Linked DNA regions of Homo sapiens: region 1 is linked to region 2. The links are contacts of gene promoters, found by promoter capture Hi-C in blood cells and fetal thymus (Javierre and others, 2016). All regions are on one chromosome and are shown on one strand. The core of a region is centred on a gene start or on the middle of the fragment in contact, and the rest is flanking DNA. Distances in the headings are between cores, read along the strand shown. Region 1 has its middle 14 kb from the start of LTO1. Region 2 holds the start of MRGPRD (MAS related GPR family member D).

The links. The method cuts DNA at HindIII sites, captures the fragments that hold promoters and counts their contacts. A CHiCAGO score of 5 or more calls a contact.
Region 1: a contact is called between a fragment that was not itself captured here and the fragment with the promoter of MRGPRD in region 2, in 1 of 17 cell types (total B cells). The highest score is 5.1, in total B cells.

The regions. Positions count from the first base shown.
Region 1 is chr11:69,659,554-69,662,253 of GRCh38, forward strand. No RefSeq gene overlaps it. Among named protein-coding and RNA genes, the nearest start is that of LTO1, 14 kb to the right of the region's middle. RefSeq lists enhancers at 1,301-1,801, 1,802-2,302. The HindIII fragment of the contact is 3,510 bases long and covers 1-2,700 here.
Region 2 is chr11:68,979,700-68,982,399 of GRCh38, forward strand. MRGPRD (MAS related GPR family member D) reads right to left here and starts at 1,287. Exons shown (of 1, transcript NM_198923.2): 1 at 322-1,287. The coding sequence starts at 1,287. The coding sequence ends at 322. RefSeq lists an enhancer at 267-776. The HindIII fragment of the contact is 14,944 bases long and covers 1-2,700 here.

The DNA.
Region 1 (2,700 bases), core at 118-2,617, 680 kb after region 2:
AGTCGTCTCCATCTCCTACTCACGACAACGACCAGCACAGAACGGGGGCTCCATAAATCTCTGTCAATAACTGAATTCTTTCTGGGGTGCTGAGGATTCTATGGCTCAATGTGTGTGAAGCACTGCTGAGCACCGAGCTTGGGGTGCAGTGATCACTCAGGGAACGCCATCATCCCCTCGGCGCATCCGCATAATCACCATCAGCATTCCATGCACTGCCCAGGTCTGGAAGCACAGGCCTCCATGCCACGGCGGCCGCCTGGGTGGTGGCACCAAAGCCGATCTTACTTCCCTCCTTTGGCACATTAAGTAGACAGTTCTGGGTCTTCTTGACACCACGGATGCCCCCTCCTGGTGTTGACAGCACCCAGACTTTGCTCCAGGGAACCACCATTCCCAGATCTGTGGTTTGAGTGGGACCGAACCCATCCCCAGCTCCAGGCCAGGTCTTCATAGGCTGAAACCCAACTGCACATCCACACCCACCAGAAGAGCAGCAAGTTAATGGATGGGTGAGAAATCAAATAGAGCCATTGAGTCTTGAGGAGACATTTTCTGGAGCTTCTGAAAAAGATAATGCTTCCCCCTTCCTTAGGATTCCCAGCAGGGAAACACAAGCCCAGGGGTGGCACTGCCCCCCTGCAGCCCTAAGGGAAGACTGAGCTGCTCCCAGGACCTCACAGGGGAGGCTGAGCGTAAGGCCAGCCCTGAGGGAAAGCAGGGAATGGGTCTCCAGACAAACTGCTGGATCAAGCCTCTCCTGAAGTCATCCCCCTTTTGTTCCAGAAGCCAATCATTGTCCTTCATTAAGTCAGTTTGATATGGGCACTGTGTCATTTGGTTTTCAAAGACACTTAACTATTACAGCTTGTGTGTGTTTTCTTTTTTTTTTTTTGAGACGGAGTCTCACTCTCGCCCAGGCTGGAGTGCAGTGGCCTGCTCTCGGCTCACTGCAAGCTCTGCCTCCCGGATTCACGCCATTCTCCTGCCTCAGCCTCTCGAGTAGCTGGGACTACAGGCGCCCGCTACCACGCCCAGCTAATTATTTGTATTTTAGTAGAGACCGGGTTTCACCGTGTTAGCCAGGATGGTCTCGATCTCCTGACCTCGTGATCCACCCGCCTCGGCGTCCCAAAGTGCTAGGATTACAGGCGTGAGCCACCGCACCCGGCCGCTTGTGTGTGTTTTCTACCTCTTCTAGATCTAACATGTTATGATTGATATAAACAACAGGAGCGACTGACAAAGTTACCATGTGATCTTGGAATTTCAACATGCCTGTCTTGCTTAGCTGGGAGTTCCACAGGGTCAGGGAATGACTCCTCTTGGGGCCACCAGTGCCCAGAAGTATGCCTAGAACTGCTCTGTCTGAAGGGACAGGTCCCTCTTCCATGGCACACACTCTGTGTGTAACAGAGCACACGTGTGACCAAACTGACCTGGAGAAAGGGCCTGACCACATCCATATCCCAAGTTCTGAGGCCGGATAGTGCCTGCAGGGGCTGAGACCAGGGGAGAGGCTCAAGCCAGCCTTCTCTGGTGGACCCTGACTCAGTCCTCTGTGCAGGGCAGCTGCGCCTCCCAGAAGGCAGAGGCCTCTTGGAGAGTGAGCCTTGCGGTCACAGCGCCTTTCGGGGGCTCCCGCCACTTGCCCTCAGTGGCGGCTGAGACCTGGGGGAGTCCAGGCAAATCCCTGAGGAGGCCCCACATGCAAGGCCAGAAGTGTCTGGATGGTGTGGCCGGCACCCTTACCCTCCAGACCAGCAAACGAAGCCCAGGCAGGGAGAGGGGCCTTGTAGTTTTCTGTGGCTGCTGTAATGAATTTTCACACACTCAGCAGCTTAAAACAACCAACATTTCTCTCATAGTTCCAGAGGCCAGCAGTGTCTGCAGTGCCCGCTCTCTCCCAGCTTCTGGTGGTTTCGGGCGACCTTCGGCTCTTCTCAGCTGGTCCATGCGCAGCTCCAAACTCGGCCTCTGTCCTCACAGGGCTATCGGCCCCATGTCTTCACGTGGCAGTCTCTCCTCTGTGCCACTGGCTCCCGTCCCCTTAAAAGGACACCAGTCATATTGGACGAAGGGGCCACCCTACTCTAGTATGACCTCACCTTAACTTACATCTTTTTTTTTGGGGGGGGACAAAGTCTTGCTCTGTTGCCTGAGCTGGAGTGCAGTGACGTGATCTCAGCTCACTGCAACCTCCGCCTCCCGGGTTTAAGTGATTCTCTTGCCTCACTCAGCCTCCCGAGTAACTGGGAAATACAGGCACCACCATCATGCCTGGCTAATTTTTAAATTATTATTCTTTTTAGTAGAGAGAGGGTTTCACTGTGTTGGCCAGGCTGGTCTCCAACTCCTGACTTCGTGATCCACCTACCTTAGCCTCCCAAAGTGCTGGGATTACAGGCGTGAGCCACTTCGCCTGGCCCAATTTACATCTTAAAAAAATCTACAAAGACCCTATTTCCTATTTCCAAGTAAAGTCACAGAAGCTAAAGTACCAGAAGCTAGGACTTCAACGTTTCCTTTTGCGGATACAATTCAATTTGCAACAGACTTGGGCTCTCAAAGCCTGGAAGCAGCCTCCACAGTCCCCTCGAATTTCAGGGGCACATACTCACTGGAACCAGCAGAGGGACATCAATCCATGAGCCTCTAGCTCAGCAAGCATCACATACTCTACATGTTCAGGTATCGCCT
Region 2 (2,700 bases), core at 37-2,536:
GAGATTCCTGTTATCCACCCATAGATAACCAGCTTAAAGCAGGGTAGGGCTAAAAGCTAATATTTTCCCCCAACCAGATAATCTGCTATAAACAAATAAATTGCATCTTCCAGCGGGGTTGCATTGTGAGATCCAGGACACAGGTGTTGTGGGGAGTTTTGACATGCAGGGAAGTGACCCCCACATGCAGCTGCAAAGTCCTTGGGGCTCCCCCAAGAAGGCGGGCCAGACACTTGGCAGGGACGAGGTGGGAGGCAGCTCACGGCTCGGGAATCTCCAGGGCATGGGCTCGCACAGGTGGGAAGCACCTGTGGGCGGCTCTCAAGCCCCCATCTCATTGGTGCCCACGGTGGGCGTCTCCCCACCTTCCAGCTCGGGCTCCTCGCGAAGCGCCTGTTGGAGCACAGTCCCCAGGGACCTGGTGGGCAGCCTGTGGCTCCTCCGGCTGCCCACCAGGAAGTAGATGACGGGGTTGGCGCTGCTGCTTACGGACGAGGAGAGGCGTGACAAGCTGAAGCACAGGACCTGCATCTCGGGCGGCAGGCTCAACCAGTAGAGCACAAACCAGTAGATGCTCAGAGGCAGGGAACAGATGAGGAACACCAGGACAGAGGCCAGGACCACCACGAACAGCCGTGTGGGCTGCCGCCGCCACTGCTGGGAGCTCCTCCGCACCCAGACAAAGAGGGTCAGGCTGGACAGAGTCATCACTGGGGTTAAGACCCCCATGATGAGGGCGGCCTGGACCATGTCCACCCTGAAGCACCGATCTTCATTGAATTTCAAGAACTTGCTGCAGAAGGAAGAGGTCAACCCGTTCATCAGGAGACAGAGTGTCCACAGCAGGCCACACACCCAGGCTGACAGGTGCCTGGGCCGGTGACACTTGAACCAGATAGGGAAGAGGACAGAGAGACAGCGCTGGGTGCTGATGGCCGTCAGCAGGCTCAGGCCCACTGTGTAGGCAAAGTACATCAGTCTCTTCATCAGCTCGTGGACCTTGTCAGTGGTATTGACCAGGGGCTGGGTTTCCAGGCTGAGCGTGGAAGCCATGCTGAAGAGGAAGAGGAGGTCGGCTGCCGCCAGGTTGAGGATATAGATGCAGAAGGGGTTCCTGTGCATTCGAAAGCCCAGCAGCCAGATCACCATGCTGTTGCCTGCCATCCCGCACAGGCAGGTGAACATGGCCAGGGAGCTCAGCACCAGGTAGGCCGTGTGCACTGTGCTCCCTCTGGAATAGTTTAGGGCTGACTCCACGGTCCCACTGCTATTCAAAGTCTGGTTCATCCCTACGAGAGGAAGATGTACCAATGTGAAATTCTGTGTTGCTGGGACCACGGGGGACCCCTGGGTGCCCCTCGAATTTCCAGCTTCAGAGCTCTCCCCTCCAGGTTCTTTATGTAACAGACCATGACCGGGAGGCTTAACCTTCCCCCACTCCTGTGACTCACTCAGCCCAGATCTGCCTCCAGGGTCACCTTTATAGCTACAAAGCTGTTATAAATACCCTTTATCAGGTTAAAAAATTCTCTTCTATCTTGCTTTGAATTATTTTTTAAATCATGGAGAGGTATTGAATTTTATCAAATGCTTTTTCTACATCTATTATAGAAAAATCATTATTATCAATAGATGTAGAAAAACTATTTGATAGAAACATTTGAAATCATTTTTTTTTTCTCCTGTAATTGTCAAACCCTGTGAGTTAATTAAAAAAACAATAGACCTTAGGGCTGGGCGTGGTGGTGCATGCCTGTAACCCCAGCACTTTGGGGTTTGCTTGAGGCCAGGAGTTTGAGACCAGCCTGGGCCACATAGCAAGATCTCATCTCTACAATTTTTTTTTTTAATTAGCCAGGCATGGTGGCACACACCTGTGGTCCCACCTACTTGAGAGGCCAAGGCGGGAGGATCGCTTGAGCCTGGCACATTGAGGTTGTAGTGAGCCATGGTCCCGCCACTGCACCCCAGCCTGGAAGACAGAGCGAGATGCTGTCTCTTAAAAAAAAAAAAAAATTAGACCTCAGGGCAAAGTGTAGAATTAACTACACTCCTTAGTTTAAGACACACCATGAGCATCAGCCCATTAAAAACCCTCCATTTATTCAAGTTTCCTTCCCCATCCCATCTTAGCTGCCTTTTTCCTCCTGCCGCTTGCATCCATCCAACCTGTTTCACGCAAATCCTTGGACACCTCAATATCTTTCAAGATGGAGTGGTTGCCCATTGTGTTTTAAATTTACGTAAATGTTGTGATTTAGAATTAATGATGGGTTTTTTATTTTTCACTTGACAATATGTTTGTAGGATATATCCAGGTGGCTGTATGCAAAAGTTGTGGTTTAAAATGTCATCATGCACATTGATCTGTTATCCATTCCTTACTGTGGATCCTCAGCTTGCTTCAAAATTCCCATTATCACCAAAACACTGTGTTGGACATCCTCATGCATGTACCCATTGGACTTGACTCAATATTTTTCTGGGATACATTCTTGGAGGAGGATTGCTCGGTCATAGAACATATGCACATTTAGTCTCACTAAATATTGCCTGGTAATTCTTTTTCTGAGTGGCTGCTTCAGGTTTCACCTGTACCAGCAGAATAGGAATGTTTACGTTTTCCCATTCTCTCACCAACACTTGGTGTTATTTGTTTTTCTAACTTTTGCCAACCTGATGGTTGCAAAGTGATATACT